Regions from separate parts of the Homo sapiens genome. Here regions 2, 3, 4, 5, 6 and 7 are each linked to region 1. Evidence: promoter capture Hi-C in 16 types of primary human blood cells and fetal thymus (Javierre and others, 2016). All regions are on one chromosome and are shown on one strand. Each heading gives the region's core, a stretch centred on a gene start or on the middle of the fragment in contact. The rest is flanking DNA. Distances are from core to core; before and after follow the strand shown.

Region 1 (3,642 bases), core at 463-2,962:
CAATGGCGCAATCTCGGCTCACTGCAATCCCCGCCTCCCGGGTTCAAGCGATTCTCCCACCTCAGCCTCCTGAGTAGCTGGGATCACAGGCAGCGTCACCACGACCGGCTAATTTCGTATTTTTAGTAGAGACGGCGTTTCACCGTGTTGGCCACGCTAGTCTTGAACTTCTGACCTTAGGTGATCCGCCTGCCTGGGCTTCCTAAAGTGCTGGGATTACAGGCGTGAGCTACGGCGCCTGGCCAAAAAATATGTTTTTTAATGGAAAAACAAAAACAACCACACGAAATAGACTGTTCTTTTGAGAAGGCCAGTTATAATTTCCTTTTCTTAAAAATTTCTTCATAAGGCATTGTCTACAATGTTAAATAAATTTAAACAAACATTTTACATAAAAGCAAATCATTCCTATATTAGGATAAAAGTATCAATTGTTAGTTTTCCCTTAAAATAACATTCAGGAACTTACTTCTCCAGCGTCCAGTAGCAGGTTGCAAACAATGAATATATTCAGTAAGTCTCCTCTCAAAAGCCTTGAGATCTAGGTATAAAGATGTCAATTTTCTAATTAGCCACTCTTACTCGTCTGACGAAATGTCAGAGTATTTACCTAACATTAAGACGACATGTGAGATACTCTTAACTGCTTCAGGTCTTACACACTAACTTCCATGTATCACTGCACTGTTTATTTCATTTACTATGACAGCTTTTTAAGCACTTGACAAAAAATTAGGGCTCTTTAATTCCAATTTCTCATATAAGAAAACTTGCTGATTTACTTTTAGAAGCTTCATAAATGGTATTGGGAGAAATAAGCAGCAGCCTCGGCCAGCGCCAAAAGCGAACATTTTCAGGGTTGCAAATAAAATTAAAATCAGGTCGAGTTTTAGCTCTCTGGGAACCAAGAACTTCCTATTAGAACCACGTAGTGCCTAACATCAAAGTCTTCGAGGTCTACCTGACTGCAATTACCCGCCTCCGGTTTCCAGCTCTTATATTTAATTAATGGCTACGCCGTCTGGCCTTACTAGACTTCTTGACACTGATAGCGAGTGGGTGTGGAAAGACATTCCCCTTGCCCCCTCCGAAGGGGTACAGGTGATCTTCGTGGCACCCAGGCAGCGCCTAGTTCTAGAAGACAGGGGCGTCTAAGCTGCTCCGAGTGAGTGGTGGGGTATCCTTTCCGCAGTGGTGTGCTTTAAACTTTAAAACACCGAGCAGCACTTCCTAACCTTGGCAGTTACCGGAAACCACCGCAGGAATCAGGGATACAACTCGCGGGGCTGTGAGAATGAAATGAAATGAATTAGCAGGCTGCAATGCACGAAGTGCAAGTGTCTGCCAGTGAAAAGAAAATAAAAATAGAAGCTGGCGAGGAGGTCGACCCTCTAGGTTTGTGGGGACTCAGGGAGCTGAGGCACCGCCCCCCGCGTCTGGCCAGGTACGGCCGCCTACGCGCCCCCAAGCTCCGGGCCCCTAGCTCCATCCTCTGCGGCCTCCTCCCGGGGCGGGGGTCTTCACGACGCCGGCTCCTCCGGAGCACCGCCAGCTTCCGAGGGGAGACGGGGGACGGGCCCGGGCGGCCCACCCTACCTTCCGCCTGCTCCAGCGAGTTCATGTCGGGCGGCAGCTCGGGTCACCGCCGCTGCCCTGTCCGCATCGCAGCTTCCGCGGCCCCCGCCCGGCCCGCAGCGCCAACTCCCACCTCTAACCGCTCCCCGCTGCCCCTCCCCGTCGCACCGCCCCTTGCCTAGACCCGCTACGCTCATTGGATTCCTCTACTAGACCTCCAACTAAGACAGCTTTCTATTGGCTGTCTCTTGCACCGGCCTCGGCGCCTAGCGTTGGACGGTCAGCCGGAGGGACCAAGAACTGCCGGCGGCCAGGCGGGCGTAACGCTGGCGTCGCCTGCTGCCCCGGGGAGGAACTGCAGCCCTCCGGAGCCAGTTCGTTCATTCATTTATCCCCCGTTCCCCGCTTGGTTCTTTCATTCGTCAAATGTTGATTGAGCGCCCACTACCTTCCAGGCATTATTCTGGTCGCTAGCGAGGGATACAGAAATCAAAGAGCTGGTTCTGTCCTCAAGGATCTCAAGGAGTAATGAAATCTGTACAGAACTAACTAGAACCCTAAATAACCAGTTTCCTTAATTATGGTATCCTAGATAACCAACCCCTTAAGTAAACACTTCTCTCTTGGTTACTTTCCTCTCACATCACCCAGCTTTCATAATTCCTAAATGAGGCAAAGTGTAAGCCCAAATACCTATAACTTAAGAAGAGATCTGTAAGGGATTGACTACATTTGTATTTGATCACAAGGCCTTCTTGTTCATTTATTGGTGGCATTCTTTCATTCAAAATCATTTTATTGCCTAACATGCTAGACACTGTATTGATACGCGTGTGAGCCAGGTAGACAGGATTCCTGCCCGCAAAGAGGAAGGGCTACAGCAGGCAACAAACATGCAAATAAGTAATTGATTTCAAATAAGAATAGTTGTGTTAAAATAGAGATCCTGGCCGGGCGCGGTGGCTCACGCCTGTTAATCCCAACACTCTGGGAGGCTGAGGCGCGTGGATCACTTGAGGTCAGGAGTTGAGACCAGCCTGGGCAACATGACAAAACCCTGTTTCTACTGAAAATACAAAAAAATTATCCAGACGTGGTGGTGCATGCCTGTAATCCCAGCTCTTTGGGAGGCTGAGGCACGAGAGTCACTTGAACCCAGGAGACGGAGGTTGCAGTGAGCCACTGCACTCCAGCCTGGGTGACAGCGTGAGACTGTCAAAAAAGAAAAAGAAAAAAAAAAGAATCTAAGACTGATGGGCTAGATTTTTTTGTGGCAGTAACATACCAACTTATAAACAAGACCTAAGGCCCTGCCAGGCAAGGGTTAAATCACTCAAGACCCAGACACTTAAAGAATAAACGATGTTCTAACTGCCACAATGTTCGTTTTTTTCCTCTAGCAGCTAAACAAGCAATATTAAAACAATTGCAGCTTACCAAGTACCAGTCACTGACTAACTGATCCCTTTGTTCCACAAGCCATAACTCCTGCTTTCATTAGACAAGAGACTGATTTCAGTAACTTTCTCCTGATAAGAGACCACCCACCATAGATTGGCCCTAGCCAGTCTACAGAGGCTGCACAATGAGTGCCTTTATGTTCTCTGCTTCGCCTTTTGACGTAAAGGGTCTAACTGTAATGCATTTAAATGTTAAGTCTCTACCCCAAAGTGAACATGTGACCCATGTAACATGCATGATTGTTTATTATGCATGTGTGCACCCCTCTTTCCTGAATAGCTTCTCCTATAACCTGTTAAATATGTATACTTGGCCAACCCATTTGGCATAAATTCCTGCTTCACCCTTCCTCCTTCAAAGTGCCTGCTTTTGGTCTCTGCCAGAGACCATACTTCCCAGCCTATAAGGATGGCCAGCCTGCAGGCTCCAACCCTTCAGAAATAAACCTCTTTAGGCCAGGCACAGTGGCTGATGCCTGTAATTCCAACACTTTGGGAGGCTGAAGTGGGAGGATCACTTGAGTCCAGGAGTTCCAGACCAACCTGGGCAACATAGTGAGATTCTGTCTCTACAAAAAACAAACAAACAAACAAAAAACATTTAAAA
Region 2 (3,642 bases), core at 792-3,291, 850 kb before region 1:
AGCTAAATGCTCTTTGCCCAAAGGAATTAACAGGGAACTGTATGCTGGAAATGAAAAGATTAAATAGCAACACACACACGCACGCACACGTGCACACACACACACCCACACAGGCTCATGAAAGCCACCTACAGAAATGCTTTAAGGACTGGAGGTAATGCACAGAAGTCGTCAGCAAGGTTCCTGGCCCATGTCAAATGCCCAGTAAATGGCAATTTTTGTTACAATTGTGCACAAATCCAGCATTCTCTTGGGTATGCTGGGCAAAACACTGTCTTATGTATTCTGTAATAACAGCACAAATGAACTAAGACAACTTCCTAGCCTATAAATGCCCCAGAAAGCTTCTAATGCTGCTCAGCACAAGGATACAGAATGAGCTTCTCTTACCATGAAGCTTCATCTTTCAAATGCTGCCACTACTTGCATGAGCTACAGACAAGCTCTGCAGAGCCAGGAAGAAAAATAGCAGATAATTCCTAGACAGCACCTACTATGTGCTAGACCCTGTTCTAAGCATCACACGTGTATTATCTCATTTAGCTTTCAATATGACCCTATCAGTTGGGTACTACTATTATCCTCATTTTGCAAGTGATTAAACTGAGTCATGGGGAAATTAGGCAAGTTGTCCTGTTCACATAGCTGGAAAGTGGTAGGAAGCACTCTGTAGAAGACTTTTCCCTTTCCCAAGTTCTTCCCTTGGGCATTTCACCAGCCTGAATGACTCCGGGTTTTCAAGCCAGGACATTAGAGTATGGGGGGATGTGTTAACAATAAGACCCTGAAGTTTCTTTTGGGACACACTCCCTGAAGATCCTTGACCAATAGATGTGCTATGGATATACACAGTGAGCCTCTGCAAGCCTAGTTGACAGCTGCTGCTGAAGGCTGAGCGCTGAATGGTGATACCAGAGGCTACAAAGTGTAGGGGGTTCTGGCCCAGCCAGAATGAAGAAACCCTCACTGAGCACCTCAGCCATTCAGCTGAGAAATCAGAAAGTCTATGCATAAAAGGTAAGGACCACATCTTAGAGAAAGAACCATGTCCTAACACTAAGGACAAAACCTAAATAGATGTACTCTAACAAAAAATAAAATTCAGTCCAACAGAATCAAAAGACTCCACCAGTAGTTCAACTGCCTTCCATAACAAAATCAACATCATTTAAAGGATGACAACAAAATTCAGAATATTCAGAACACAATAAAAATTACTACACATGCAAAAATGTAGGCAAAAGTGACCCAAAATCAACAAAAAAACAGACAACCTTGAGAGGTTCAGAAGTTGGAATTAACATCCAAGGACTTGAAAACAGCTATTATAAATATGTTTAACAATTTAAACAAAAACATGGACATGATGAATGAAAAATAAGGACTCAAATACAAACTACAAAGGAACAAAATGAAATTCTAGAACTAAGAAACATAATATAATGAAATGAAATATTCACTAAAATTAGTGAATATTTAGAATCATATTAGATATTGTAGAAAAAGCCAATGAACTTGAGGCTAGATCAGTGAAAATATCCAATTTGAAGAACAGAAAGAAAACACTTAAAAAATTAACAGAGCCCCATCACCTGTGGGATAATATTAAATAGTTTACTGAATAGTTAGACACATGCTATTGGGGTCCCAGAGTGATGAGAGAGAATAGGACAGGAAAAATGTTTAAAAGATTATTTCCCAAATTTCATGAAAAGCATCAGCTGAAAGATCCAAGATCTCAGCAGACCCCAAGAGTAAATACAATAAATGTTTTTAAAGGACATATTTTAAGATGGTGAAAGAAATATATATATACACACACACACACACACACATATATATATATGTATTCAGAATTGTATATCTAGCAAAAATGTTGCTCAAAATAAGGGTGAAATAGACATTTGCAGATAAACAAAAGCTGAGAGAATTCCTTGTCAACAGACTTTCAACACACACACAAACACACACACACACACACACAAACACAAACACAAATGCTTTCAAAAGTAATTTAGGCTTGGGGGTAATTAAATCAGATGGAAATTCAGTTATTGAGGAAAAAATAAAGAGCACTGGAAATAATAAATAAGTGGCTAAGCATAAATGATTATCTTTTCCTCTCTTCAGTTTTGTAACAGACAACTGACTATTTAAAACAAAAATAATAGCATTGTTTTGTGGAATTACAACATATATAGAAATAGTATATGTGAAAACAGAAAGAACATTAAAGATAAATGGAATTGTAGTGTTACAGGGTTTCACTTAAATTTAAAGTGAAGTCGTAGTTAAAATTAAAATTAAAGTTAAAATTTCACTTAAATTTTAAGTGAATTTATAGAGTATTAATTCTAAGTAGGCTATGATGAGGAGGATAGCTAAAAATAGAAAGAGATAGAGCTAAAAAGAGAATAAATAAAATAAAACGACATAGAATATAAAAGTATGCTGTATGCCCAAAATGAAGCAGACAGGGAAGGCAGAAGTAAAAAGTCAGTGAAATAGAAAACAAATATAAGATCATAGGTTTAAACCCAGTCATAGCAATAATTACATTAAGTGTAAATGCTTTAAACACTCCAGTTAAAAGGCAGCTGTTGTCATTCTGAATCACACAAACAAGACCAACTCTATTCCTACAAAAGAAATATTTTAAATATTAAGACAACAATTAAAAGGAAAGAGAAAAAAGATATACTACGCAAACAATAAACATAAGAAAGCTGCTGTAGCTATATTATCAGAAAAATAGACTTTAAGACAGAGTATTTCTAGAAATAAGTGAGCACATTTCATAATTACAAAAGGGGAATTCATTAGAAAGATATGACAATTATAAATGCCTATAAGCCTAAAAATAAATTTTAAAATACATGAAACAAAAGCTGACATAACTAGGAAAAAATAGACAAATCCACAATCATAGTAACTTATTATAAAATGCTTCTCATACTAGTTAGACAAAATATAAGAGTATGTGAAAAATAATATCAACCAATTTGATTTACTAGAAATTCATGAAAACATTACACCCAACAACTGCATAATAAACATCTTTTGTGGGTGCACATGACACAGTTACCAAAATAGACTATATATTTGGCCAGAAAATAAATCCAATCAATTTCAAATGATTGAAATTTTACAGAGTATAATCTCTGACAACAATGAAATTAATTTAGCAATCAATAACAATAAGATACTTTAATAATCCCCAAACATTTGGAAATTGTACAACACACTTCTGAATAACCCATGAATCAAAGAAGAAATCACAGGAATGAAAATAAGGGAATTGTTACTGACCTTACTGGGAAATAAAGGAATTAAAAAGAGATTAAGTAAACAATTACATGCCAAACATGTAACCCAGATTAAATGGACAAATTCCTAGAAGGATACAAATTACCTAAACTGACTCAAGAAGAAATAGAAATCTCAACAGACCTATAACAAGTAAAGAGATGAAATCAGTTAATCAAAATCTCCCAAAAAAGAAAAGCCTAGAACCAGACATACCCACTGGTAAATTCTAGCAAACATTAAAGGAAGAATCAATACCAGTCCTTCTCAAATTCTTCCAGAAATTTGAAAAGGAGGAAGCATTTCTTACTTATTCTATGGGGTCAGCATTTCCCT
Region 3 (3,642 bases), core at 611-3,110, 810 kb before region 1:
TTGGCCCATAAGACCAGAGGGAGGCTGAAGTCTCAGCTCCAATTTTTCAAAGCTGAAAAAGACCAATCCCCTCCTACTAAATATAATGGGATTTCCAAAGATGGATGGAGACAGTAGTTTAGGGTGGGGCTGGGGTTGTTGCAGGAGTGTGTGGCATGTCTGGTGTTTAATGTTTCAGCCTCTCTTCTGCGTTCTTTTACATTTAGTGAATTACCAATATTAAGGCAAAATAGATCTATTAGACAATTACCTAAGGGAACTCAGCTGCTACCATAAAGCCAATGAAGTTATGACAGCAGGGCCCAGGAGGAATCAGAGCTGAGTAAAACCTGTCGAGGCTGCTGACAAATGATGATAAAGTGGTCGCTTTTGCCAGTGCTCAATGGAAATTGACAAGGTGAGCCTCCCCACCTAATGAACAGATCCAACCCCTGTTCCCGATGAAATGCGCAGCAAGTTTAATCTCAATAAGCATCAAAATAAATTTGTTCCCACGTTTAGAGAGAGCACAGACATGTGGGCAGGAGCCATGGCCTTCATGGATGGGACCCAGGCTGTGGTGTAGGGGTGGCAGTGAAGGTGCTGGGGGCTTCCCCATCAACAGTATCTCAGGTACATCTGCCTAAAAATACCTCCATTGCCCATTCTGTCCACTCCCAGAACAGAAACTGAGGCTCAGATGGCACCTACGTCACAGAGACCCCAACCGCTCAGAGAGCAATTGTCTCCATAACTCCTATTAAATGTGCGCAGCTCTGATTCTTATAAAGTAATGTCAGTTACAGAACAATACCAGCCTGCCAGGCAAGACACATTAGAGGAACAAGGCGGGTGGCGTGGGGGTGGGGGGAGAGACACTCCCACCACCAACCCTCGGAATACAATGCACCAGCTGCACATTAATAAATATGTAATGTTTGATTAGAAATATGTATAGTATTTTTTTCCCTCCCCAAATGCCGGCTCGCCCTCAGGCGGAAGACGGGATCTGGCCCACACTGACGGGTTTCTTTCTTGCTTGCTTTGAAAATACAAACTCAAATGTTTTCCTGTCCCAGCTGTTTCCCATTGTTGCTGTTTATCAGCTTGAAGGATGAACAGTGGAATAAAAAAACACGCTTGCATTTCAAATGTGCCAGTCAGTCACTCCATTGTTCAAAGAAGAAAGCTTAATTGTCTGTGCTGGCAAACTTCTTTTTGGTGAATGTCCAGGTTTTAAGAAAAGCTATTCAGCTGTGCAATTTGTTTAATACATGCAGAGAAAAGCATATAAAATCACACGTTTTTCTGAAAAAAAAATTAAATAAGGGGAAAAGAGGAATTTTGGAAAAGAACGAGTCACACATTGAAGTTTCCCGATTGCCCCCACTGGGCACAGGTTTCTGTGTCCTCTACTGAAGTCTCACTTTTCTCTTGGGATGCTCCAGAAAGTCCCACTCAGTGGTTGAGCTTGGTGCTGACAAACAGCACCGGCTCTGAGCTGACGGCCCAGGCAGCAGAAACTTCAGATCGTGCCGGCCAAAGCTCGGCTTTCCCTGTGATTACACCAACTTGTATTTGAGCAGCTCCTGCTTTCTAGGAGTGAGGTACAGATACAGCCAGCAATGCTTGAGAACTTCTATGGATAAAGTTAGTTATGCCCAAAGCAGAGAGGCCCTGTCACAGCTTACCTGTCAAGGTGGGCACACAGGGATAAGCCTGGGCACCCCCAGCAACCCATCTAATTCAGGGGCAAGTGGAATCCGTGGTTGCCTGGTGAGCCTGCAGGGAGAAGGCGCCCAATCTCAAACACCACCCCTGAACAATCCCACAACCAAATGGCAGAAATGCAGTTTCAAAGGAGCGTGGTCTTCTGCTTGGGCTTGAGTGTTCTGGGCTTACCTTGCAAAACAACCTGGCCTCAAGAGGTTTCCATGTCAAAACTGGATGCTTGGGGATGGGAGAGTGGTTTGCAATATCAGTAGTAAGAGCTTCTGTGTCCCCTCCAGACCCCCAAGTGTCTAAGAAACTGCCCCTAAGATGTAGATGACTGATACCAGATCCATATCTGTGAGCAGAGGACGGAAGAGAAATTGGATGTGCTGGCATTGAGGGGACACCAAGGCACTGGGGGAAAGGGCCCCCAAAGTGTGGTGGAAAAAAGAGGCAGCTTCATAGCTTAGCCAGAGGGTGATGGTATTACCCATCTCAATCACTCTCTTTCTAGATTTTACGAGTAATGTTTTTCGATACGTAAAAATAAATGATAAGGGCGTAAGTATCCCCGCCCAGTTCATAACAATGCCCCCACCAAATTTTTCAACATTCTCCCCCTGCCATGTCCCAGTGTTGTTCACAGTAAATTATTCATAGCTGCCCCATGAGGTCAATGCCCCCACTGCCTCAGTAAAGGAGAGAACAAGAGGCTTAGAGAGGGCCATGGCTTCCCAGCATCCCACAGCTGCTAAGCGGCCCCATGAGGACTTGAACCCAGCCCGCTGAGTTCTGGTCCACTTGGGCCTTGTGAAGAGAATCCCCAGTAGAAAAGGTTAATCAGAACCTTGTCAAGCTTCTCCACATCCCAACCAGCACTCTTCTAAGAGTATTTCCGGACTGGCCAGGGCAGCCTCTCTGGGCTGGGCATCTGATCCTAGGGGTGGCCTCAGGGTGACCCAGGAAGCCTCTGTGTCCGTAAGTGGCTCTCTGTCACACTCTTCACAGGGGTGATCTCAAACATCCTCCCCTCTCTAGAGCTCCTTGGCTCTACTCTTCAACTCTCTCCTTCTGCCTATGACAACCTCAAGTTCCATCTCACAGGGAACACAGAAGGAACAAATGGAAGCACAGTTCATTTCCTGCCACCAAACCTGGGAACACACCTACACCTATGCCTGCTCTTGACCTGTCCTGCCTGTCCTAAGCTAGCCCACCACCTGAACTTCAAGTCCTCATGTTCTCCCAGGGACTTCGCTGCAGCCATTGTCACCTCTTCTCTGCATCTTCAACCTCCCTTTTCCCCTACTGGCCACCACATCACCATGGAAACATGGCTAAGACTCTCCTGACTTAAGAAAAATGAGTACACAAGATGATAGACTCAGGAGGACAACACAGGCCTAGCCAGCTACCTGTCCTCCTGCCCCAATTCCTCAAAAGAAAAGCCATATTTAAAAGACAAAATGAATCTATAACCACATGTGGAAAAACAAGAACTTGTCTGCAATTCCTGGAAGATGGAAAGCAGATGGGACTGGGTTGGCAGGATTGGCGGAAACCACAGCCAACCACTATGGCCAGAGCTACTGAGGAAGTAAGAGAAGATCCAGGGTACTTGGGTTCAGAGTAAACAAATACAAAGAGGAGGGGGTGGAGCGATTGGCAGAGAAATTAGCAAAATAACTGTGTTCAGAATTGGTTTTCATTGGAACCAATGGAGCCGACACCCACCCCCATACCCAAACAGGAGACTGCAGCAGCATTTAGCTCCAGGTCCAGGTCAAAACTGAAGGATTGCACAGTAAAAAAAGGGAACCCGCATCTGCAATCAGTTTTATCCACTGATTTGCCACAGTGAGGTACAGGCACCTTCATTCAGGAGCAAGAAACATTTCTTTTTCTCCACGCATAAACAATCCTGTTATGATGTAAGTACAATCCCAGAAA
Region 4 (3,642 bases), core at 717-3,216, 780 kb before region 1:
TCTCAGGAATCAATGTATTCCCTGCAAGCAAATTTTTCAGTACATGCACAATATTTTTTTTTTTTTTTTTTTTTTTGAGACAGGGTCTCCCTCTGTCACCACCCAGGCTGGAGTCCAGTGGCGCGATCTCGGCTCACTGCAACATCTGCCTTCTGCATTCAAGCAATTCTCCTGCCTCAGCCTCCTGAGTAGCTGGGATTACCGGCATGCCACCACAGCCCGGCTAATTTTTTTATTTTTAGTAGAGATGGGGTTTCACCATATTGGTCAGGCTGGTCTCAAACTCCTGACCCCAGGTGATCCGCCCACCTCAGCCTCCCAAAGTGCTGGGATTACAGGCATGAACCATCATGCCCAGCCACAAATTTTTGTATACACAAAATTAGATCTATTATCATACATAAGTTTTTAATAATCCACTTTTTTCACCTAATATAGTGTGAATTTTTGCTCATGTCCTTAAAAAAATTACATTCCAGAAGAATCATTAATGACTGCACATGGTTAATGGTTATGGTATAGTCTAGCTGTACCATAATTTATTACAGTCCTGCACATTTAACTTTTTCAGGTTTGGCCAGCATTATAAACAGTGCTGCTCGGAGTCTGATGGCTAATCTTGGGCACATCTGCGATCATGATTGCCTTAGAAAAATTTCCCAGCAACAGAATTGCTGGGGATGAGGTATGCACAATATGAAGGCTTTTGAAAACCAAGCACTCGTGTATCGGGCACCTACATGGCTCACAATTTGTGCAAAATGGGTTAGGGGTAGCAGGCAGAGAAAGAACCAAAGCAAGAGAAATCAGCATTCTGAGGGGGGGGGTCTCTGCACACACCAGACCCAGACACCATGGAAGTGCCACATGGGGAAGGGGCTTCCAAAGCACTGAGCCACCCTGAACGTCAGAGCTGGAAGGGACAGCACAGACTCTAATACAATTCTCTGTATTAGGAATGGGAAAACTGAGGCTCAGAGAGGTGCCACCCAGGAAGGGGGTGACCTCAGTACTGGAATCTTTCCAACATGGCTGTGTGCTTTGCTTGAAGTGAGCCCTGCTCTGGGAGAAGGGCCCGAGGTGGCAGGCCGAGCCTTGATATGAAAGTATAAACCATTTTCCCCCACCTCCCAAGCAGAGGTGGATGGGAGGGGGTGAGGAATGCTGAGGAGGCCTCCAGCCGGCCTCACACAGGTAACAGCAGCAGTAGTGACCCATTTGAGCCCCCATGGTGTGCCAGATGCTGGTCCCAGGACTTTGGGTCTGTTATCACTGAAACCACACACAAAATGAGCGACAGGGGCACTGTGGTTTTGTCAGAGATGCTTGCTCTCATTTGCACAGAAAGGAGTTCATGCAAGTCTTTTTATTATTATTACATGTCACCGCAACAGGGTATTGCAGTGGGGGAAAGAGACTGGACTCAACTCCCCACTTATGCAAGTCTTAATCCAAGTGGAATCTCTTCTCTGGATTTCTAGAGTGGCAGGTGAGGGGGCGGGAAGCCTCTTCTCCATAATGGCAGTGGTTCTCACACTTCAGCGTGTGCCCGATTCTCTTGGTGGGAAAAGGGGGAAGTGTTCAAAATGCACATTCCAGGGCCCTACCCTGAGAGCTTGATGCTGTAGATTTTGCACAGGGCCTCCAAGACCAAATTCTCTTTTTTAGAGACAGAGTCTTGCTCTGTCGCCCAGGGTGAAGTGCAGTGGTGTGATCATAGCTCACTACAGCCTCCAACTCCTGGGCTCAAGTGATCCTCAAGCCTCAGCCTCCCAAGTAGCTAGGACTACAGAAGTGCATCATTACACCTGTCTAATTTTTATTGTTATTATTGTATTTTTGTAGAGACAAGGTCTTGCTGTGTTGCCCAGGCTGGTCTTAAAGTCCTGGCCTCAAGCCCTGCCCGCCTCAGCCTCTCAAAGCGCTGGAATTACAGGTGAGAGCCACCACGCCCAGCCGGAGCCTGCATTCTTAAATGTCCCTGGATGACTACGACGCAGGTTGGTCCAAAGACCCCTCTCTGGGAAGCACTGAAGACAGTGTGGTTGATTTTCACATTGGGATCCTGACAAAGTAACCTGTACTAAAGTTAACACAGTAGATATGAGGCTTACACTGAGAAAGGGTCGCAAATAAAGGGAGGTGACATCAGAATCCTATTACGTACCGACATTCCCCCCATAAAGCCACAGATTTGTAATTCATTCATTCCTTTGCAGATTCCGGGACCTCACAACCGACCTTACGGCATTCGCCCAGTAGATGGCGCTAGCTCATTTTAAACCCCGTTTGTAGACGGTGCCTGAAAGCTCAAGACAGAGGGAGCAGCAGATGCAGAGAAAGGGCAAGACAGAGCCCATTATGAGAGAGGACAGCCACAAACAGAAATGGTCAACACTAAGCAGCTGTCCCGAAATGACGCAGAGGAAACTTAAACCCTCTTAGGGTGTAGTGTGTAATCTGGTGTGTTGGCCCGACTGCCACATTGGCTTTCAAAATCCCTGCTGCCTCCCAAGCCTGGGTTCTGGCTGCGGCTCGGAGTTTGGGAGCTTAGATCTAGGACAGCGCCATAACCAGTAATGACCACAAGATGGCGCTGCTGCACTCAGGGACAAGATGCCTGAGAAAAATCTCAATCTCATAAAACCATCTAAAGGATAAAGAGTGTGGCTTAAAATAGGATCGTGGAGGGAGATGAGAGGCAGAAAGAGAACTGCTGATTAGACTTGCACCCTGTCTCTCAAGTTCATGTTTACGATATTAGTACTAATGCTGCTGCTGCTGCCACTGGTGGCTGCTGTTTACTCAGGGGCTACGGAGTGCCAGGCACTGTGATAAGCACTTTCCGTGCATGGTTTCATTCAAAGTTCATCAAAGCCCTAGCAGGGGAGTCCTACGATGTCTCCACTTCTGAGAGGAAGCATTATTTGGGGAACTAGAGACTGAGACGTCTTGTGCTTTCTCAAAAGAAATGGGGACAGTAATCTAATTCTGAGCACACTGACAATAGACAGTGGGGCTTCCACGAATAAAAGGCTGAAACAGCCTGGACAACATAGCGAGAGCCCCCTCTCTACAAAAATGTAAAAAGCCAGCTGGGCATGGTGGTGTGCACCTGCAGTCCCAACTACTGAGGAGGCTGAGGCGGGAGGTTTGTGCCAGGCACTGATCAAGGTGGTAAGGAAAGACAATTAAAGGGACTAGGGGAGGTCCTGAGGAGCCCACGATAAGCCATGCAGCCAGGGGATCAGTGCTGTGGAGAAAATGAAGCGCACAGGAGTCTATATGTGCCTGTAGGTGTGTTTGAGATGATGGCAGAAGTAAACTGGAGCTGGCATCCATGGCTCACAAGAGCCCATTATTAAATTTTCAGGAATTTTGCGAGTCAGTTCTTGGATGGATCTATTATTGAATTATTAAGCTAACAAAGTATATAAACTTACAAATTATATAAACTTAAAATGAAATTATACTTAAAATAAAGGTAACAAATACTCGCAACTCATTACTTCCTAATTATTTTATATTTTACCATTTTCTGTGCCAAAGGTAAGCAAACTGTTTCTGGGAAGGGCCATTTAATGACTGCGTGAGCCATAAGGGTTCAGTCAAAACTATTTGACTCAGCCATTGTAGCACAAA
Region 5 (3,642 bases), core at 446-2,945, 760 kb before region 1:
GGGTGAATCACCTGAGGTCAGGAGTTTGAGACCAGCCTGACCAATATGGTGAAACCCCGTCTCTACTAAAAATACAAAAATTAGCCAGGCATGATGGAGTGCACCTGAAGTCCCAGCTACTTGGGAGGCTGAGATAGGAGAATCGCTTGAACCCGGGAGGTGGAGGTTCCAGTGAGCCGAGATCACGTCACTGCATTCCAGCCTGGGCGACACAGCGAGACTCCTTCTCAAAAAAATAAACGAGTGACAGCAGTAACTTGCTGTTATCAAAGAAAAAGAAAATTTAGCTAATATAGATTTTTATCAGGAAATCTAAAGAATATTATATCAATGCTACAAGGTTTGTTTTTGTCAAAGTATTCTGCAAATAAAATGGCCGCCACTTTATTCTTCTTCCTACTTTAAAAATGTTAACATCCCATATTAACTTCCTAATTCTTATCATATGGCTACAGAACTGGCAGGCTACTCTCAATTTAGCCCAGTCTACAATCCTCAGAGCCTAAAGATTCTTGGTTCAATTTCCAGAGCTTAAAGATCCTTGCAATGTTAAGGCTGGGCGTGGTGGCTCATGCCCGTAATCCCAAGCACTTTGGGAGGCCAAGGCGGGTAGATCATTTGAGGTGAGACGTTCGAGACCAGCCTGGCCAACGTGGTGAAACCCCCGTCTCTACTGAAAATACAAAAAAGAAAGTTAGCCAGAAGTGGTGGTTCACACCTGTAATCCCAGCTACTCAGGAGGCTGAGTCAAGAGAATCGCTTGAACCTGGGAGGCAGAGGTTGCAATGAGCCCAGATTGTGCCGCTGCATTCCAGCCTGGGGGACAGAGTGAGACTCTGTCTCAAAAAAAAAAAAAAAAAAAAAAAAAATCTTAAGTTGTTCCACTTTGGAAAAAATTGCATATATGAGGGCAGCAGTGCTGCTACTGAAAATCGTTTTTTTAAAGACAGTAGTTTTATGACTGCCTTTACCTACTAAAAGAAATACAGCACATAACAGCCAATGGCTTTACTGCAAGTTATGTTGTTTGAGACATGCACAAAGATTTCCCAGATACCCTCTGTATATCTATTCCATTGTACCAATATCATTCACCTTTCTGGACACAGAAACATGAGACAACATTCAAAAGCTTAAAAGGAGTATGTCATAAAAAGCAAATCTCCCTTTCAATCCTGACCCACAGTCATCCAGTTTCTCTACTCAGAGGCAGATGGCAGTTTCTTTCACACACACTCACACGCACACACACACACACACCGGTATGTGTCCCTGCCTCATGGCACTATCTATACCTATTGCATTCTTTTTAAACTTACCAGAATAAGGTTGAGTCTAAGTAACAAGAATTGTAATGACCCTGGATGCCTTTCTTCTTCCCAATCATTATCTCCAAGCCTTCTTTTTCCATTTTTGGTGGAGTATTTTCTTCTACTACTTCACTTAAGTAGCCTCCAAATGCTGAAAAGATTTTTTTAAAAAAAGTAAATGAAAAGAATTCTTTTAAACTATTACAATATGTATTCCCATAAATATTTTTTCATTTTAAAATGTTTTTGTATTTTGATGCAAAATTTTTTCTTTAAGTGGAAAGTAGGCTTTGGTTAACTGCTATTTGACTTGGCTTATAAAAATTGCTATTGTTCATTTTCAACTTCATTTCCTCCAAGATTTAAAAACACACTTTAGAGTATTATGTGTAAAAAGCATCTGTCAAGTAAAATATGTTTCCCAAATATTTCACTATTTATCTGAAGTTGCTTCACTTTCAAGTTTGAAAAGAAAATGAAAATTCCAAAGTACTATTTCAACATAATAAGAGTGTTTTTCATAAAGATGGCTTTCCTGTTTGCACCTGCTGAAGCCCCAAGATGCTTTTCCACTATTATGTAGAAGTGGAAAGGAACAGCACCAGGAAACTGCCACCAATTACACATGATGAGGAGAGCTGTCCTCCAGCAATCAGTTGAAATCTACTTCTTACACTAAAATGCTGATTTCTTTGTAAGATACACTCACTGCTGTAAACAAGACACTGTGAGGGAAGTCAGTAAAAAAAAAAAAGAAGGTTACATTTCAATTTCTACCACTAGTATTGCTGAAAACTAAATGTCTGTCATCAACAGGAAGAGAAAAACAAACCACACTATTATTCACTTTATAAGTCCCAAACGCACGTCCTAATACTTTTTTAAGATGTCCCCTCTTAAAACAACTTTCTTATACACCATGCAACATTTTTACTGATTTAAAGCTTAATGAGCGTTGGCAAGAAATATATTAAAACACTGTCACCATCACCTAATATAACATGATATGAGATTAGAATTAGAGTCATTCCAGGTTGTTAAGTAAACAAAAAGCATCCAAATACCTAAAGAGTTACAGCGCTCAATCTGATTGGAAACCGGCTGCAATGATGCAAACCTAGAGTCAGGCCTGCAGCTCTTCAGTTTCACAAACAGCGCCTTCTTCAGGGCACAGGTGAAATACCGAGTGCCTCTGAAGGTTCCATCCGTACAGCCTGCACACTCATCTTCCTGAAAAAGAAATGCTTCAATATGCATTATACCGTGCCTTACAGAGATAGTATACAAAGAACTAAGGTTTCTAAGACCTGTTTCTAGTATACCCTTTCTCACCACTCCCTCTTCGCACCTGTACTGAGAACCTCATCAAGAAAAAGGAGTTGAGTAATCAGTGCTTCAGCCCACAGCTACTGATTTAAGAAGTGACTTCCTTAATCCAGCATGAAGTCCTTCTTGTATTTCCTTTCAGAATATATGCTTCAACCTCCCCTGGTTAAACGGGCTTTCCCGCACCATTTCTACAAGCATTAAAACAGGCAGGGAAGGAGAAGGCTATTTATTTTAACCCTCATTCTTGCCTCCCCACCATGCCCCATAAGATAGTATTCACTAGCATGGAAACAAACAAGAAAAAAAAAAAAAGAAATATATTTAAATTGGCCAGGTGTGGTGGCTCATGCCCATAATCCTAGCACTTTAGGAGGCCAAGGCGGGCAGATCACTTGAGTCCAGGAGTTTGAGACCAGCCTGGGCAACATGGCAAAACCCTGTCTCTACTAAAAATACAAAAAATTACCAAGCATGATGGTACATGTCTGTAATTCCAGCTACTCAGGTGACTGAGGCAGGAGAATAGCTTGAGCCCAGGAGGTCGAGGCTGCAGTGAGCCCTGACCGTGCTACTGCACTCCAGTCTGGGTGACAGAGTGAGACCCCATCTCTAAATAAATCCTAAACATACTCAACTTCTCCTTTCCTGATTACAAAATATCAAATGATATGTTCTCCTGATCTCTAAAGGGAAAACCTTTCCCTCTAGCAAAGGTCTCAAAAGATCTCTAAAAATGGTGATTAACTTTAAAGCCAGTGATATAATTATTAGAACTGACCAGGGGAAGGGGCTGAAGAAGAAAGAGAAAAGCTGATGGCAAATTTGCTTGATTTACTAAATTCTGTTTAATATAAGGAGCCTAAATCGATTGGCCTAAAAATCAACTTTCATTCCTTGAACATAAATCAACTAACATTAGGACAAGTGGGTCGCAAGCTTCAGGGGCGGCAAAGGGAAGTCAGAAAACATGGTGAGAAAATTATTCTGCAGTGATAGCTTTTCT
Region 6 (3,642 bases), core at 316-2,815, 740 kb before region 1:
TTGTAGGTTCTGTTCCAGACCACCACAATAAAGCAAATATCACAATAAAGCAAGTCACACAAGTGTTTTTGTTTCCCAGTGCATATGAAAGCTATGTTTACACTATACTGTAGTCCATTACGTGTGCAATACCATTATGTTATTGAAAATAATGTATATACCTTAATTTTAAAAATATTTCATTGCTAAAAAATGTTAATGATTATCTGAGCCTTCAAGGAGTCATAGTCTTTTTGCTGGTGGAGGCTCTTGCCTCAGTGTGGATGGGTGCTGACTGATCACGGTGATGGTTGCTGAAAGTTGGAGTGACCGTGGCAATTTCCTAAAATAAGACAACAATGAAGTTGGCTCTTTCTTTCATAAAAGATTTCTCTGTAGCATGTGATACTGCTTGATAGCATTTTACTCACAATAGAAGTTCTTTCAAAACTGGAGTTAATCCTCTCCCAAGCCCTGCTGCTTCTTTACTAAGTTTATGGAATATTCTAAATCCTTTGTTGTCATCTCAACGATGTTCACAATATCCTCACCAGGAGTTGATGTCATCTCAATGAACCACTTTTCCTTTCTTCATCCGCTCAAGTTTGATCATGAGATTATAGCAATTCAGTCAAGTACATTTTCAGGCTCCACCTCTAGTTCTAGCTCTTTTGCTACTTCCACCACATCTACAGTTATTTTTTCCACTGAAATCTTCAGTCCCTCAAAGTCATCCATGAGGGTTGGAATCAACTTCTCCCAAACTCCTGTTAATGTTGATATTTTGACCTCCTCCCATAAATCATGAATGTTCTTGATGGCATCTAGAATGGTGAATCCTTTTCAGACAGTTTTCAATTGACTTTGCCCAGTCTGTCAGAGGAATCCTGATCTATGGCAGCCTTACAGAATGTATTTCTTAAATAAAACTTGCAAATAGAAATTACTCCTTGATCCATATGCTGCAGAACAGTTATTGTGCTAGCAAGCATGAAAACAACATTAATCTCCTTGTGCATCTCCATCAAAGCTTTTGAGTGACCAGTTGCATCATCAATGAACAGTAATGTTTTGAAAGGAATCCTTTTTCTGAGCAGTAGGTCTCAACAGTAGACTTAAAATATTCAGTTAAGCATGCTATAAACACATGTGTTGTCATCCAGTCTTTGTTGTTCCATTTATAGAGCACAGGCAGAGTAGATTTAGCATAATTCTTAAGGATTTTGGGATTTTCAGAATCCTGGCTTCAACTTAAAGTCACCAACTGCATTAACCCCTAACAAAAGAGTCAGCCTATCCTTTGAAGCTTTGAAGCCAGGCATTGACTACTCATCTCAGCTATGAAAGTCTTAGATGGTATCTTCTTCCAATAGAAGGCTGTTTTGCCTACACTGAAAATCTTTTATTTAATGTAGCCACTTTCATCAATTAACTTAGCTAGATCTTCTGATAACTTGCAGCAGTTTCTATATCAGCACTTGCTGCTTCATCTTGCACTTTTCTGTTATGGTGATGACATCTTTCCTTAAAGTTTATGAACCAACCTGTGCGAGCTTCCAACTTTTCTTCTGCAGCTTTCTTACCTCTCTCAGCCTTTCAGAATTGAAGAGAGTTAGGGCCTTGCTCTGGATTAGGCTTTGGCTTAAGGGAATGTGCTGGTTTGATCTTCTATCCAGATAACTAAACCTTTCTCCATATCAGCAATAAGGCTGTTTTGCTTTTTTATCATTCATGTGTTCACTAAAGTAGCACTTTTAATTTCCTTCAGGAAATATTCCTTTGCATTCACAACTTAGCTAACTTTGGCACAAGAGGCCTAGTTTTCAGTCTCTCTCGGTTTTCAACATACCTTCCTCACTAAGCTTAATCATTTCTAGCTTTTGATTTAAAGTGAGAGATATGCAACTCTCTCTTTCACTGGAACACTTAGAGGCCATTGTAGGATTATGACTTGGCCTAATTTTAATATTTTTGGGTATCAGGAAATAGGGAGGCCCAAGGAGTGAGAGAGACAGAGGCCCCACTAGTCAGTGGAGCAGTCAGAATACACACAACATTTATCAGTGGAGTTTGTCATCTTATATGGGTGTGGTTTGTGGTGCCTTAAAACAATTTCAATAGTCACCTCAAAGATCATTGATTACAGATCACCATAACAGATATAATAATAATGAAAAAGTTTGAAATATTGCAGGAATTACCAAAATGTGACACAGAGACACGAAGTGTGCACATGCTATTGGAAAAATGGCATTGACAGACTTGCCCAAAGCAGAATTGCCACAAACCTTCAATTAATAAAAAACACATATCTGTGAAGCACAATAAAGAAAAGCGCTATAAAATTAGGTATGCCTGTATTTGATTTCGTAAGACAAGTGAAATTACATTTAGCCATGTTACTCTGGGAAAAACAATATTAGCATAGAATTGGTTATCCCTGCAAGAATACATAAATAATGAAAGAAAATTTGTTTTTCAAGTGATTCCCCCATAGCTATCCAGCAAGTTAACATTATAAAATGAGCATAACTCCTAGAATTTGCTTAGGACACAGTGTCTCAAGCTCAGTTCTACTAAGGTTCTGAACCAGATAATTCTGTGTTGTGTAGGGCTGCCCTGTGCACTGTAGGAAGTTTAGAAGCATCACTGGTCTCCATGCATTAGAGGCCAGTAGTACTCTCACCTCAGATGTGGCAATCAAAAATCTCCAGACACTGCCAAATGTCCCCAGGAGACAAAAGCATCCCAGGCTGAGAACTACGGGCTTAGACCTAAAAAATGCACTAGTTACACAGTAAAAATAGTAGCATATTTTAAACAATAACAAGTATATCTAGAAAGAATTAAGAAAGCCAAAAGTTGGTCCTTTGAAAAAATGAAAGTCAGAAACCACTGGTAAGATTGGTGAAGAATATAAGAAAGCACAAATGATTAACATTTTGGATGAAAATAGGAACACAAGGGCAGATGCTGCTGAGGTTGAACAGAAAATTAAGAGGCTTTTATAAACAACATTATGCCCAAAGCTTTGAAAATGAATTAAATGGATACATTCATAAAAAATAAAACTTGCAAAAGACAATCAAAAACAAACAAATGTTAAAGGATATTTCATCAGTAGCTAAACATTTCCACAAAAAGAAGCTTTGTCAAATAGTCAAGGAATAGGTAATTCTAATCTCACATAAACTCTTTCAAATAACAAAATAAAAGAAACCTTTCCCAGGTACTTTATGAGACAAGCACGACTTTGATTCCAAAACCAGACAAGGACAGCTAAAAGGGAAAAAGTATAGGCCAATATCTCTTATAAACAGAGATTTTAAAAACAGGATGCAAATACTAGCAAACTGGACCAAGCAAAGTATGAATCATGAGGAGGTTGGGTTTACATCATGGATGTAAGGTTGATTCAATATAAGAAAATTAGCAGATTAAAAGAAAATAGGATTATCTCAATAGAGAAAAAGGGGTTGATAAAATTCAACATCAATTCATGATAAAACTGTTAGAAAACTAGGAACAGTAGGTAACTTCTCTAACCTGATAAATGACAGATACAACAATAAAACTCTATAGCAAACATCACATTTAATAATGAAATGTTGAAAGCATTTTCTTTAAGATCAGAAAAAAAGGCCAAGATGCCTTCCATCACTA
Region 7 (3,642 bases), core at 653-3,152, 720 kb before region 1:
GGAGCTTTTGTGTTTGTTTGTCTGTAACGCTGCATTCTTGAAGAAGCAAGTAAAAAATCCGCTCTTCCCAGTAGGGTGAAGTGACTTTTTCTTGGCTCCATAAGCCTGAACTCATTGTGATATTAACTTCAAAATACTAATTCAAAAAAGGGAAACTACTAATAACTTTGTCATAAAACCGCAAAAGATAAATTCAGTGGCAGTCCCAAAGCATGTTTTCAGCAACGTGGTGTCCATGCTGTAAAAAGAAAGGAAATCAAAATGCCTAGTGAAAAAGCAAAAATAAACTTTAGACTTCATTCTACATGACTGAAAATTAAGACTGAAGACTTTTAAAATTTTCATTTGACCAGTAAACACATACACACAAATGAAATATTTTCAAAAAATATCTAAAAGGGCTAAAAGACATACATACTGTATTACTTTTATCTACTGTAACTGTGCATATTTAATTAATGAAATCCAATTGTAAAGTACTTTCAAAGACAACACAATGTTTGCTTCCAAGACACTGAAATTTATAAAATCAGATTCTAGTAAAAACTTTTAAAGATTACCCTTATATACATATTCTAACTTTTTTTAATTTATTTTTATTTATTTGTTTTGAGACAGGGTCTCACTCTTGTTGCCCATGCTGGACTGCAGTGGCACAATCACAGTTCACTGTGGCCAAGACCTTCCAGGCTCAAGTGATCCTCCTACCTCAGCCTCCCGAGTAACTGGTATTATAGACGCATATCACCACACACAGCTAAGCTTTCTATTTTTTGTAGAGACAGGGTCTCACTATGTTGCCTAAGCTGGTCTTGAACTCCTGGGCTCAAACAATCCTCCTGTCTTGGCCTCCCAACGCACTGGGATTACAGTCGTAAGCCACCAGGCCTGTCCCATATTCTGACACTAATAAACTTTTAAAAGTAGCGTTTCGGGCTGAGCTGTGTGGCTCATGCCTATAAATGATAGCTATGATATGGCCATATTGTGATAATGGAACATTTTACCTCTGACTCAACTTCATTTCATATATTTTTTCTGAAGATGGGCAATGTTCATCACATTAATCATAGTTATCTGATTTCTCAAATCGCAAATATCAGATATTATAATATGACTATATTAAAAATATTTTAAAAATCAATTTTGTAGCATCAAAACTTGTACTACATAGCAAGGGAATATCATGATATAACTGCATTATAATTTCTTTCTATTATTTCTTTTTCAAATTTTCATTTATTTTTATTTTATTTATTTATTTTTAAGACAGGGTCTCGCTCTGTCACCCAGGCTTGGGTACATTGGTGCGATCATAGCTCACTGCAGTTTCAAACTCCTGGACTCAAATGATCCTCCCACCTTGGCCTTCCAAGGTTCTAGGATTACAGGCATGAGCAACTGCACCTGGTCCTCATTTAAAATTTTTACAAGAATAATAATCTTTCCAATGAAGTAGGCTCATTCTCAAACCTATTTTAACTGATGGTTAAAAAACTACACAATTTCATTAATTTAAACTGAGACTTTACTTCATTATTTTAATTAATTTTCTGCTGAAAACAATACTTCCTAGGTATCCCTGTCATAAGAATGTGGCTATCTGGTTTCCAAAGACAGTACTTTCATTTCATCCTTCCTTGAGATAGAGGTATCCATTTCCATTATTCTGGGTAATGGCTGCAATTGATAGCACTATCATATTTATTTTATTCTAGCAATTAAAAAATAAATACTCCTAAAGAACCAAATTTTAGATTTAATCACTTAATGATCAAACAACCTGGCAAATCTATACACAGTGGAACACTTCTTTTAGAAAGCACTGCTAGATAATGAAGTATTCCATAATGGTAACGTTCCTAAAAGTCTCTCCCTCTACAAGCCAGCATGAGACATGTGGTTTAGCCAAGACAGGATACAGGTTAGGCACCTCCTTCAAACCAACATGACTGAAATATCTGTGTAACACTCAGTGAGGGTAAAAGCAGAGGTAGCATGAAGTGGTTCTCTTTTCTTCTTTTTTGTGGTGTGTTTGTTTTAATTCCACTTGAGGGCACTGTCTACTTCAGCAAGAATGGGATCAATTTATATTTGCCACTTATATAAGACACCTGTGGAAACCTCTATCTTGACACAATATAAACAAAACTCCTTATAAGGGCTGCCCAAACAGCTATCCAACCCCTCAATTTGGTTGGATTCCTTTAAAGGACCAAACTGAAGTGTTGGTTCTTTTTGACCAAAATGCTTTTAACATGTCAACACTTTCCACAAGAAAATGTCCTTATTTTTTTCTTGATCATTGATGTATCATTATGACTGTAAATTATTTTGCATAACTCTTGATCTGCAAGGCTGTTATTTTGTTAAAAGGCTGTATCTTATGCTTCCTGAGGTCGCGAATGCTTTCTACAGATCTACTGTCTAGAGTTTTCCCTTGCAATCAGCCATTTTCTGTGGTTTCCTGCTGTATGCATTTGACTCCTTTTACGGCCTTGTTGCTTTCCAACTTATCGCTTCGAATCAGTTCTGAGAAGCCAGGTAGTGAAATATGTTTGTGTGTTTGAAAACACAAAGCAACAATCGTGAAAAGAGGAATGCATACATTCTGAAAGGGTCTTTAGGAGCAAAGGGCACATAGGCTTTATTGAATAGAGAGTCTGGTCACTAGCAGAAGGTTAAGACAGTCAAAAAGCAACTTTCAAAAAAACGAGCTGTTGTTTTGGTTCTCTTTAAAATGTATTTAGATTTTTAGGGCCAAAATTTTTTTGAAAAAGGTAAAGTAATTCTATTTTGAAAAGAAATTCTTTTTTAAAATTCCTAAGAACAATGTCTTCAAATATTACAATCAGAAACTTCCCTGAATCTTAATAATTGCTTTATACCAACAGCTCCTACTCTATTGGTCCTGTAGCTTAACTATTCATGTCACAATTTAAAATAAAAATCATTAATGCTAATAATCTATTATTAAGACAAAACTAAATTACTATATGTGCATTAGGACATTATGTTAAATAAATTTGATTATAAGCTTGCTTTCTGAAATAATTTAAGGAAGAGAATCCACAGTAAAAATTGATATAACTGCTAGGTTTATAAAAATGTTTTAGGGTAATAAACTATAGCTTTCAAGTACCATATTTTAAAGTGAACTCTACAAGGAGTGGTAACTTTTTTCCTAACTTTCATTAGCACAAGTGGAAATGAGCTTAGACTTAGCAATAGGATGGGTCATGTTAGACAACTAAAATAGTCAAGCACAAGTTATCAAATATTTCAAAAGCATTATCCAAAAATAAAGGATACAGCCTTTCCTCTTTCAGAAAGAATATATTAAGAACAAGTTTGAAACTCTCTTATTAAAAATTGATTCTCTTCACTGCAACTGATAGAGAAAGTTGAATGGGAAACTTTACGGCTCGAGTCTAGAGATATACAAGGCAATCAACTGAATGATCACTAATATTCTCGGCCAGGCACAGTGACTCACGCCTGTAATCCCAACACTTTGGGAAGCCAAGGTGAGTGGACAGCTTGAGCCCAGGAGTTTGAGACCAGCCTGTGCAACACAGTGAAACCTCATTTCTACAAAAAGTACAAAAGTTAGCCAGGTGTGATGGCATGTGCCTGTAGTCC

What was found. Contacts are between HindIII fragments. The CHiCAGO score rates a contact against its expected background, and 5 or more counts as called.
Region 2: a fragment that was not itself captured here is called in contact with the fragment with the promoter of CNEP1R1 in region 1 in 1 of 17 cell types (total CD4 T cells); the score reaches 6.6 in total CD4 T cells.
Region 3: a contact is called between a fragment that was not itself captured here and the fragment with the promoter of CNEP1R1 in region 1, in 7 of 17 cell types (naive CD4 T cells, non-activated CD4 T cells, total CD4 T cells and 4 more). The highest score is 8.1, in naive CD4 T cells.
Region 4: a contact is called between a fragment that was not itself captured here and the fragment with the promoter of CNEP1R1 in region 1, in 11 of 17 cell types (naive CD8 T cells, naive CD4 T cells, total CD8 T cells and 8 more). The highest score is 20.2, in naive CD8 T cells.
Region 5: a contact is called between a fragment that was not itself captured here and the fragment with the promoter of CNEP1R1 in region 1, in 9 of 17 cell types (naive CD4 T cells, total B cells, naive B cells and 6 more). The highest score is 11.8, in naive CD4 T cells.
Region 6: a fragment that was not itself captured here is called in contact with the fragment with the promoter of CNEP1R1 in region 1 in 6 of 17 cell types (total CD8 T cells, naive CD4 T cells, naive CD8 T cells and 3 more); the score reaches 10.1 in total CD8 T cells.
Region 7: a contact is called between a fragment that was not itself captured here and the fragment with the promoter of CNEP1R1 in region 1, in 11 of 17 cell types (total B cells, total CD8 T cells, naive CD8 T cells and 8 more). The highest score is 15.4, in total B cells.

What each region holds. Positions count from the first base shown.
Region 1 is chr16:50,023,295-50,026,936 of GRCh38, reverse strand. It overlaps CNEP1R1 (CTD nuclear envelope phosphatase 1 regulatory subunit 1), which reads right to left and starts at 1,712. Exons shown (of 6, transcript NM_001281789.2): 1 at 1,597-1,712; 2 at 470-541. The coding sequence starts at 1,621. RefSeq lists a silencer at 1,399-1,708 and an enhancer at 1,522-2,023. The HindIII fragment of the contact is 11,127 bases long and covers 794-3,642 here.
Region 2 is chr16:50,872,925-50,876,566 of GRCh38, reverse strand. The region is part of intron 1 of LINC02128 (long intergenic non-protein coding RNA 2128); the gene reads right to left. Among named protein-coding and RNA genes, the nearest start is that of LINC02128, 35 kb to the right of the region's middle. The HindIII fragment of the contact is 3,284 bases long and covers 400-3,642 here.
Region 3 is chr16:50,833,714-50,837,355 of GRCh38, reverse strand. No RefSeq gene overlaps it. Among named protein-coding and RNA genes, the nearest start is that of LINC02128, 4.5 kb to the left of the region's middle. RefSeq lists an enhancer at 169-1,575. The HindIII fragment of the contact is 1,380 bases long and covers 1,171-2,550 here.
Region 4 is chr16:50,805,333-50,808,974 of GRCh38, reverse strand. LINC02168 (long intergenic non-protein coding RNA 2168) reads right to left here and starts at 2,303. Exons shown (of 2, transcript NR_146573.1): 1 at 2,168-2,303; 2 at 1,346-1,557. The HindIII fragment of the contact is 6,211 bases long and covers 1-3,642 here.
Region 5 is chr16:50,780,144-50,783,785 of GRCh38, reverse strand. It overlaps CYLD (CYLD lysine 63 deubiquitinase), which reads right to left. Exons shown (of 19, transcript NM_001378743.1): 10 at 2,375-2,540; 11 at 1,320-1,461. Among named protein-coding and RNA genes, the nearest start is that of CYLD-AS2, 21 kb to the left of the region's middle. The HindIII fragment of the contact is 1,122 bases long and covers 1,135-2,256 here.
Region 6 is chr16:50,763,786-50,767,427 of GRCh38, reverse strand. The region is part of intron 5 of CYLD (CYLD lysine 63 deubiquitinase); the gene reads right to left. Among named protein-coding and RNA genes, the nearest start is that of CYLD-AS1, 23 kb to the right of the region's middle. The HindIII fragment of the contact is 556 bases long and covers 1,288-1,843 here.
Region 7 is chr16:50,746,172-50,749,813 of GRCh38, reverse strand. It overlaps CYLD (CYLD lysine 63 deubiquitinase), which reads right to left. Exons shown (of 19, transcript NM_001378743.1): 3 at 1-238. The coding sequence starts at 115. Among named protein-coding and RNA genes, the nearest start is that of CYLD-AS1, 5.2 kb to the right of the region's middle. The HindIII fragment of the contact is 2,275 bases long and covers 765-3,039 here.